2 separate regions of the Homo sapiens genome follow, and region 2 is linked to region 1. The links are contacts of gene promoters, found by promoter capture Hi-C in human tissues and cell types (Jung and others, 2019). All regions are on one chromosome and are shown on one strand. Each heading gives the region's core, a stretch centred on a gene start or on the middle of the fragment in contact. The rest is flanking DNA. Distances are from core to core; before and after follow the strand shown.

The links. The method cuts DNA at HindIII sites, captures the fragments that hold promoters and counts their contacts. A contact is called where the count stands out against the background at its distance.
Region 2: a contact is called between a fragment that was not itself captured here and the fragment with the promoter of CADM1 in region 1, in 1 of the 25 tissues and cell types used here (thymus).

The regions. Positions count from the first base shown.
Region 1 is chr11:115,502,346-115,507,218 of GRCh38, reverse strand. CADM1 (cell adhesion molecule 1) reads left to right here and starts at 2,804. Exons shown (of 12, transcript NM_001301043.2): 1 at 2,804-2,948. The coding sequence starts at 2,825. RefSeq lists a silencer at 2,619-2,778. The HindIII fragment of the contact is 7,329 bases long and covers 1-4,873 here.
Region 2 is chr11:115,914,710-115,919,582 of GRCh38, reverse strand. No RefSeq gene overlaps it. Among named protein-coding and RNA genes, the nearest start is that of LINC02703, 2.5 kb to the left of the region's middle. RefSeq lists an enhancer at 102-251. The HindIII fragment of the contact is 4,128 bases long and covers 1-3,986 here.

The DNA of each region.
Region 1 (4,873 bases), core at 1,555-4,054:
TACGACATTAGCATTTCCTACAGAAATGTCCCATGTTGTTCTTTGCCAACTGGAAATTTGAGTAGGTGTTCATTTGATGTGCCAAGAGAATGAAGGGAGATGAAAACACCCTACATCTTCCAATGTCCCCATACTGTGTTCCGAGTGTGGGAGGACTGGGGCCTGGCTAGATTCTCCTGGAGATTCAGCTTCATGAGGAATGTTTTTCCTTAGGAGTATACTGCAATTCTGTTAGTTAAAAAAAAAAATGTTTCTGGGTTGCTGGCATATTTTCATCTTATGTTAAAAATGTAGCTATCCTTTGCTTATTATTCATGCATTGTAATGTGAAATTTATTCATTCACTTTACGGATATTTAGAAAGGCACAGTGGTTAATTGCATAGGCTCTTTCTGCAAGTTAGAGACTGTAATCTTAGGGCAGTTACTTAATCTTTCTAATCATGTTTAAAAAATATAAAATGAAAGATAATAGTATGTACCTTGGGGATTGTTTCAAGTATTAAATGAGATTTTGCATGTAGAATACTTAAGAATTCAGTGAATGCAAGAGTAGTAATAATAGTAACGGCAGATAATAATGTTACTATGTGCCAGGCTCTGTGTCAGGATTCTTGCCATATAGGACCTGCCTTTATAGTTTACATATCACTTTCAGCATACATATGGCCTTACTTTTTTTTTTTTGAGACGGAGTTTCACTCTTGTCGCCCAGGCTGGAGTGCAATGATGCGATCTCAGCTCACTGCAACCTCCGCCTCCTGGGTTCAAGTGATCCTCCTGCCTGAGCCTCCTGAGTAGCTGGGATTACAGGTGTGTGTCATCACGCCTGGCTAATTTTTGTATTTTTATTAGAGACGGAGTTTCGCCGTGTTGGCCAGGTTGATCTCGAACTCCTGACCTCAGGTGATCCATCTGCCTCAACCTCCCAAAGTGCTGGGATTACAGGCATCAGTCAGCGTGCCCGGCTGGCCTTAACTTTTTTATTCCAATTTTGGTGGAACTTTGCTCTCTATTTGGTCCGACCCAGGTACCTCACTGCCAGAGGTAGTAAGAACGGGTAGGACTTTGCAGACTGGGCATTATCCTGGCACCCACGTGGCAATGGTTTCCTGTCTCCTGTAGTGCTGTTCTCCTGTTGGAGCTTTCCCCACTTCTGAAGGACTGCCTGCAGTTCATGCATCGGGGCCTGTAATTACAGAGCAGAATATCCAGGGCTGTGAAGACCGGGCAGTCTCGAAATTAGTTTATGCATAATGGATAATAGGAGGCTGTTTTTAAGTGTAACTCATTTGGTGGGTTGGCAGATCATGACTTCCTTTTTGATATGTATTATTTATTTATTTTATAGCAAGATGAGGACAGAAGGCTGGGGAAGTCATTTGGCGCAGCTCTTCTAGACTATAGCTCAGACTTAGCAATTTACATTCAGTAATCTCTTGGTCATTTAGCCACAGATAATTTGTCATGGTTTGTTTTAGCTGTTGTGATATTGATATTTATTATGCAAATTGTATTTCCTACATCTTATTGTTCTGCATTCTATGAATACTTAAATTATTATAAACCTTTACACTTAATATGGCTCGTCCTTCAATTTGATGCTTGAGCAACAGAGGGTCAGAGCGCACACGATCTTCTAGAGGGGAAGAAAATAAGTAATTAAAAAGCAGACAAACAAGAGAGCCGGCTGCCTGGCTGAAAAGAAAGCAAAGAGAATTTCGGGGAGGGAGAGTGAGTCCGGAGATGCAAGTCGCTTTAGCAGGAGAGGCTCTCCCAGAGACAGGGGAAGCTCGGAGCACCTGTTGGTCCCCAGCTTCCTTAGGAAGGGCTGGGGGCGCAGAGGAGGAGTGAGAGGGTTTGAGCCCCGAAGGAGGAACACGGCAGACCCTGCCTTCACCACACTCCCTCTCCCCAACTCCCACCACCCCCGCTCTTCACCTGAAGCCTTGACTAATTTTTTCCGTTGTTGTGTAATCTTAAATATCTAATATTACAAATATTTCACACATATATTCAACACACACCTATATATTAAAACCAGGGAGGAGACCCTCGACAAGCGGAGGAGCCTGAGCATACCCTCCTCGATCTACCTTTCCCGAGATTCTGCCGCAAAAAGACCGACTGGAAAATCTCAGAACCCGACTCTACGGCTGCCTTCTCCAACTATCCCCGAGTCTACCGCTAGGCTGTTGAGCGGGCTCTCCCGCTCCGCCGGACGTGCAAAGCACGCATGCACTTCTCCCAGATTGTTTTGTCAATCCGGGGACCTGCCTTCTTACTCTCCACTCCCGCACAGCCCCCGTTCCCAAAGATCTATTCCTTCGGTGCAAGGTGAGTGACGGAAATTTGCAACGTCTGGTTCGCTAGGCCAGATGCACTCGGTGTGCGGGACAGAGGACCCTCTTAAGGGAGATTCTCCAGTCGTCGGTCTGATACAGCGATTGCTATAAACATTCCTAATAAAGGTGTACAAGAAGCTAGACCCGCCCCCTGGAGCCCGAGTCCTTGCACGCCAGGCGCCCGGGAGAACACTTTTTCCTTGATCCGGGGAAAGCAAAACCCGAATTTTAACATAAACATATTTGCATACGCCCCTCCCCTTGGCCCCGCCCCTAGGTGGCGCGGGCGCGCCGCCGAACGCCAGCGCCAGGGGGCGGGGTGGGGGAGGGAGCGAGGCCCTCCGAGAGCCGGGTTGGGCTCGCGGCGCTGTGATTGGTCTGCCCGGACTCCGCCTCCAGCGCATGTCATTAGCATCTCATTAGCTGTCCGCTCGGGCTCCGGAGGCAGCCAACGCCGCCAGTCTGAGGCAGGTGCCCGACATGGCGAGTGTAGTGCTGCCGAGCGGATCCCAGTGTGCGGCGGCAGCGGCGGCGGCGGCGCCTCCCGGGCTCCGGCTCCGGCTTCTGCTGTTGCTCTTCTCCGCCGCGGCACTGATCCCCACAGGTAGGTGTGGGCACCGACCGGTTGGCCCCTAAATCTCCGAAGGCACCCCAGTAGCCTTGGCCACAGAGGGGGGAAACGTTTCCATGACAACCTCCCCCCACTTCCTACATCCGAAGCGGAGGGAGTGTGGAGAGGAAACTCAGGGCTGAGAGGGAAGGGGCTGAGGGCATCTGTGAGCCCCTTCTCCCCTGCCCGGCTAAGTGTGAATGAGAGTCCCCAGGGATGGCTGCACCCACACCTTCTCTCCCCGGCTTGGCGCGGGGTGCAGAGTGGAGTGAGAATGGGGGGCCCGGGGGCTGTAAAGCATGGGGGAAGGGGATGGTTCAAAGACAACCTCAACCCTTCCGGACCCTTCTAAACTCGCCGTTCTCCCCGTAACTTGCAGGTCCTCCCACCTCCCAGGGCTGTCCATTCGCCCCCACCTCTCCAGAGGGCCCCCCCAGTTCTCCATCCCCGAAGCCTCCTGGTGGCTGACTCCCAGCCGCCCGCGGCGTGATTTCTCCCCGGTCCCCAGGACATCCCCAGACTTGTCTGATCTCCCCTGCCCCTTCCCCCAACGCGCTCTGCCTTTCTCCCCTGTCCCCAAACTGCACGCCTCTCGTGTTTCCCTCCGGCCGTTCGCAGCCCTCCGCCCCCTCGGCTCTGCTGCGGGTCTTTTTGGCCCGGCTCCAGGCGGGGAAAGTTCCCCGGCCCGGCCCCGCGGGGGGGGCGGCCGCTGTCGCCGCCTCTGCGGGAAGGCGCCGGGAGCCCGCAGCCCGCCCGCCCCACAGCGTCCTCTGCCACGAGTGGGGACACGGGATTTCCCGGCTGCCCGTTCTTTCGGCGGCCCGAGGGTGGCGGAGGGGGCGTCGCGGCCTCTGCGGCCAGGCGGGCACCCTGCGGGCCTCCGCGCGCTCCCTGCGTGAAGAGCAGTCTTGGGAATTTGCCCAGGGGCGGCTCTGCACGCCCGGTGCCTTCCCTGAAGACACCGAGCACTCGGCTGGAGCCCGATGTGTGGCTGCCCGTGTGCCGGGCGCGTTGGCGCGGTCGGGAAAGAAGAGGGCAGTGTTTGCTTTTGCTAACAAAAGGGAGCCGGAGCTCTTCCTCAGCGGAGAGGCCGGCTGTGCTGCACCCAGCCTCCCTTCCCGCCACCTCGCCGCGCTTGGCAGCCGCGCGGCGTCCTCTGGCCCCTGCTGCAGGCTCCAGGCGGGCGCCGGGACCGAGTGGCACGGGGCCGCGGGGTGCGAGCGGCGATGCAGGAGGGGATGCAGCAGGGCTCTGAGCCTGCAAAGCCCCTCCTTGCAGCTCCAGAGCTGCAGGACCCGGGAGCAACAAGTGGCGGAGGACGCCGAGAGCTCAGCCCCCACCTGCGGAGCCCCAGGCCCGGGCGGGCACAGCGTTGGGGCCACGGTGCTGCTTCAGGGGCGCCTCTCCGCTTGGGCTGTGCCTTTTGTTTACACGCTAGAGGACACACAGTTATGTAAACACCGCAGGAGACACGCTGTAGGAGACGGGGGATGTGTGGGGGTGCTAGCTTGAGATTTGGGGGACGCCGGGTTGGCTGCTTGCCCCCAAAATAGGCTTGCAAAGGAGCTCGGCTTGGGAAACCTATTGGGGGGCGTCTGGCAGCAGCGTCAATTCCAGCGCTGAGGGTTTTTTTCCTCCATGCCACTGTCTCCGGATGTTGTTTATGTGTTTTTCCTCTGTGAATTCTTAATTTATGAGTTACGAGATAATTGGGTTCAGCCGATGCCGGTGTGGTTACAACTTCATTTCAGGTGATGCCTCTGACTGGATGGGTTCAATAAAATGTTCCTGAAAGAGATCCCTCGTGCTGCTGCATTGTAAAAAGCGCCAGTGTCAGTTAAACGTGAGCGTGAGTAAAGGCTCGGTAACTGGCGCATAATAGAGGCAACAATAGACTTGTATTGGCTGCAAAAAAAAAA
Region 2 (4,873 bases), core at 673-3,172, 410 kb before region 1:
TGAGTCATACATAAACTCAAGTGACAAATCACTCCTAGCTGGGTCAAAAAGGGAGTAGAGAGGGGCCAAGTGTGTGGGGTCAGGGAAGTCCCTCTATATGAAAACTAGAGAAGGAAGGGGATAAAAATTCCCCAGATTTTTGTTATCTTAACCAGCTGGGCTTAATGTTTAACCCCTGGACAACCAGGTATGTGGTCATCTGGCTCCAGGAGGGGATGAGCTAACTATCTGAGCAGGAGGTCGCTCCCCCAGCATCAACTTCTGTTCCTTCCTGTGCCTTCCTGGGACCATCCTAAGACACTGTTGATTTCACTTCCATAAGCCTCTGAGATGAGCCAGAACAGTGTGTTAATAAAATCCAGTCCAAGGCTATGTTGTGTCTAAGACTGCAAGTTCAGAGCCTGTTCTATTTCCAATCCAAATTGATGTCCAGCCACATGGACCACTAACCTCATCAGAGGTTCTGTAATGAGGTTTAATAGCAGAGTGAAGATACTTCAATAATAAAATGCATAAAGAGCTAATAAAAAATGCATAAAGATTTCTTCAATAATAAATGGGAAAATAAGATGTCCCAAATTTGGATATAAACCCTTCCCATTATCAAATTCCTAGGGAAAAATTTAGAGATTAAAATCCCAAAGAGATTAAAGTCCAAAATCAAAGTATTTAGCCCTTGCGAATTAAAGCCCAAAGAAAGTCCAAATTGCCCAAGTTACATTTAAGTTTAAAGCAGTGGAGATCCTCCCCAGTTCCCTACTCTGCTCAGTCTCAGGCAGCAGCACTCTTGGTGTCTGAGCAGAGGGAGGAACTCCGTGAGCAGCTGGATCCTGAGTTGGCTTCCACTGGGGTGTATGTGTGTACCTCCTCAGAACCTCAGAAATGAGATCATTCAACTCCAAGCCTCTCATGCACTCCCTTTTTTAACAGCCCAAATAATTAATAGCACATTAAAGCTTATCAAAGCTCTCTCCTGACACCAATAAAATTTAGAAAACCAGGCATTCTGAAGCCCCTACAGCAGTTGTCCCAGGCAAAATTATGTGCCCAGCCCCAGTGCTCAGTTTTGCCAGAGACCATAGCAGAGCATCCTGGTACCTGAGGGAAGCAGGAAGCCAGAGATGGTCCCGGTCCAGCCCTAACAGGTTCCCATCAGTGCCTGCCAGTATCCCAGAGTCCATGACCTTTACCCATCAATCACAGGGTTATTCCTGGCACTGTTTTATTAATGCCCTGTTTCTCCCTCCATGGAGAACACCACCATATCCCCACATGCCTGGACTCTCCTCTGCTGGAATTGGCCTCTCCCTGCTGGCACCTCCCAGGCCAGGGCTCAGCACCTGAAATGGCAGAATATTGGCTGCTCCAGCAAGGAGCCAGACTGGGATGGAAATTTCAAAGGAAATATCCAGAAACTGGTTTCACAGCTCAAAACCCTCACTCTTGTCAAGGGTATTAAAAAAATAAGTGTGTGGGAGGTTGACAGGAAGGTATTTGTGAAGAGGGCTTCTTTAGAGACAGGTGAGCTGTGAGTTCCACCTCCCTAAGGGGAGAGGCAGGTGTAACTGTACCTTATCTCCAGTCTGCTAGGGGGTCTTCAATGGGACCACTCAGACAGCAGAGTGTATGTCCCCTGTAGTGTGGGAGAATGAGTGCCTGACATGTGACCTTCACCTGTAAAATCTGGGTGACAGAAGGGAGGAAAGCAGAGGAGGTGGCACATGGGTGAGTTGCTCTCCCAGTATCTGCTCAGGCAAAGATGCCTAAGTGTTTCCTAGGGTTTTCATATGGGCTTTGCAAGCAAGAGAGCTGGGATGGTACAAAGTTAGGCCCTGCCCACTGGGCCGCATGCAGGAACAATGGGACCTCTGCCGATACAAGCTGACCATTCAACCCCTGCCCTGTTGCAGGCACTGGCTGGGGAGAGAGAAACCAGCTATAACTTTGTATGAAGTTGGAAGCTTTGACCATTACATGGGATCAGGCATTCTAAATATGAGTTCAATCTAGATATGATTTCAGGTATCATTGAACATTTTATTTCCCCCAAAATATTCCTAAAGGTCATGGATCTTTCCATGTACATATTTGGGGTTAGTAGAACTTTCCTCCTTAAGTAAATGTAAATAGTGGGAAATCAAGAAAGTTGCTTTGTGATTTCATTTCAAGCTTTTTCAAAGAACAGGTCACAGTGGCATAGCACTCTTACAGATTCTTCTTTACTTAACTTGCAGCATGGTTATCTGTGGACACATCTCATCTCTGGCCAGTAGACTGTAAGCTTCTTGTAGACAGGTGTCTTCTTTATCGATTACAACTCCTTTCTGAATGTTTGGAACATGGCATGTATTCAGTAAATATCTGAGGATAAAACGAAAACAGAAAGGAAGGGAGGATGGGAGAGACAGAGAGAGTGACAGAGAGAGAGAGAGAGAGAGAGAGAGAGAAATGAGAGAGTCAGAGCATCCGTGAGACTCTTGTGCAGCAAAGATCAGTTCATCAATAGAACCAGAGTACTATGGGGCTAGAAATTGATGGGCATCTTCCCCACATGCTGCCATGTATTTTTTGTCTTTGAAGCTTTTGCCACAGATTACCCTCTGGTCCAGAACTGCACATAGCCACTCACTGCTGGCCATTAGTCACAGGTCAGATGAGCAGAAATGCTGCTGGGCTAGTCTAGAGATTGCTGGCTAGGAGTCCAGAGTTCCTGGTACTGGGTCTGGGCATTCATGCCCGGAACTCTTCATTGCCTCATCTAGTAAGTGGGGATGGCAATGTCTCCTCTGCTAAGCGGTCAGGGTTATTATGTAGAGTATTTGGAAAGAGCAGGTTTCAAAAGTGATTGCCAGGTGCTGGCACCTGCCCCAGATTTCAGCTGCCCTTTGAGAGGCTGTCATAACCCACATAGGCTGGGCCCTGGGGGCTTCCCTCTCAGGCTGGGATCAGAACACTACAATGTAGACAGCTTAGGAGATCCTGGGCCGGGCCCTTCCTCTCTTCATGACTGCAGCCCTCCCCATTTCGCCTGCTCTCCTGAGGACTAAAGGGTTAATGAGTAGGAAAATAAGAGAGATTTTAGTGCCTGCTCTGTCTTTGCAATGCTGCCTTTTCCCTCTTTGACACTTTGCCTTCACAGTCCATTCTATAAAACGGGCTCCGAATGTGCACTGATGTTGTCCTGCTGCAGTTAGTGATGAAGCCACATCAGAGCCTCTCTTGATGCTGCTTCTCTAAACTGTGGTGTGCATATGAGACAGAGACAAAGAAAGAAAAAGAAAAGGGAGGAGGAGGAGGAGGAGGAGGAGGAGGAGCGAGGGGGTAACAGGGAGGGAGGAAAATAAAGAGAGGGAGGGAGAGGAAAAAGAGGGAGACTTACCATCTCTCTGTATTTTTAATTACATAAATAATACATGTTCATTGTAAGAAGTCCCATAATAAAGGGATGTGTTTTTAAGTGAATGGTCTCACCTTACCTCTCTCCTTCTATCTTGAAGTAAGTCTGGGGATCTCCCTGAAATCTTATGAACTCCAACGTACTTATTTGACCCCACAAATCCTCTGCTTCTCACCTAACCTCACCCCTCCTGTGTTCTCCTACACACACACACCCCACATCCTTGTCTCTCTGCTGCCTCACAAATCTCTCCCAGGCTAATTTGTTCCATACCCTTCTATAGGCAAAGCCTAGTACATCATAATTGCCAGCCTGGTCTAGAATCCACTGAACTATTCTATGTGTCCTTCACTTTGGAGAATCCTGAAATAGCCACCATAAAATTCCCTTGGCAGTCCCTTCCTAAAGAGGAGGGCCATCCTACAGACACCATTAGGAAGATTGTAGAACTGAGCAGGGAGGTACCACTGTGAGACTAACATCAATGAAATGCGTCTGAACATTTCCAGAGCTGAGCAAACCATATGTCTTCATAATTTGATTGTGTCCTGGTCCCAGAGGCACCTCCAGCTCTATTGAACACCGATGGAGTTATTTAGGATCATAAATAATATTATCAGAGAGGGTCCACTGGGTAAACAGAGTCAGTGTGTAAATTGTCGGAGTGAGATATTGATTGTTCTTAACTGACTAATGAATTATTCTGTTTAAGAGCCCATAGAAATAGTGCATATCATTTCAAGGCAATAGGGCCTTTGAAGGATTTTCTTGACAAGCAGCTTCTATCTAGTAGTGTTGGCTGCCATAGCTGAGGAACAGCACTTCATCAGCCACTGTGCCACCACAGGAAAATAACAGGCAACCCCATGGTGCAGGGGCCCCAGAAGGAGTTATGAGGTCCAATGAGGGTGAGGAATGGAGACAACTGCCAGATCCAGCCAAATCCAGCCCCTTGCTGCTGCAGGTTTCAGATCAGGTCTCCACGAAGTTCACAGGCTTCAGATCTATTGCAGAAGTGCCCAAGATGAGGGTTCCAGAGTAGGGACTTATTGACATACGACTTTGTGTATTGTCTATGAGCTATTCATTCCATGCTCTGACCTTCCTCAGTGACCTGCCAGTGGCCGACTGAGCCCATGCTTTTAATGCAAGGCTATTGGTGAGAGTTTCAAAAGGTGGAGGTTGCTGCTAATTTCTGTACCTGCCCCTGCTTTTAAGAGTATAGTGACTCTCCTGCCTACAAGTCTACATCTTGGCCCCTTTCCTTACTCTATGACCCTTTAACCTTCCCAGTTTCTACCCAGCTCTTGGCCCCTTGTCAGTCTTTATTCTCTTTACTATAGAAGGTCTTTTCACATCTCCCCCTACTCCACTTAACTGTTGGACTACTTGTCTTTTTCTTAATGGCTTTTCTGAATTCTTTATATTTTATTGAATCTATTTGTACTAATCCTTTACTGAATCTATTTGTTACAA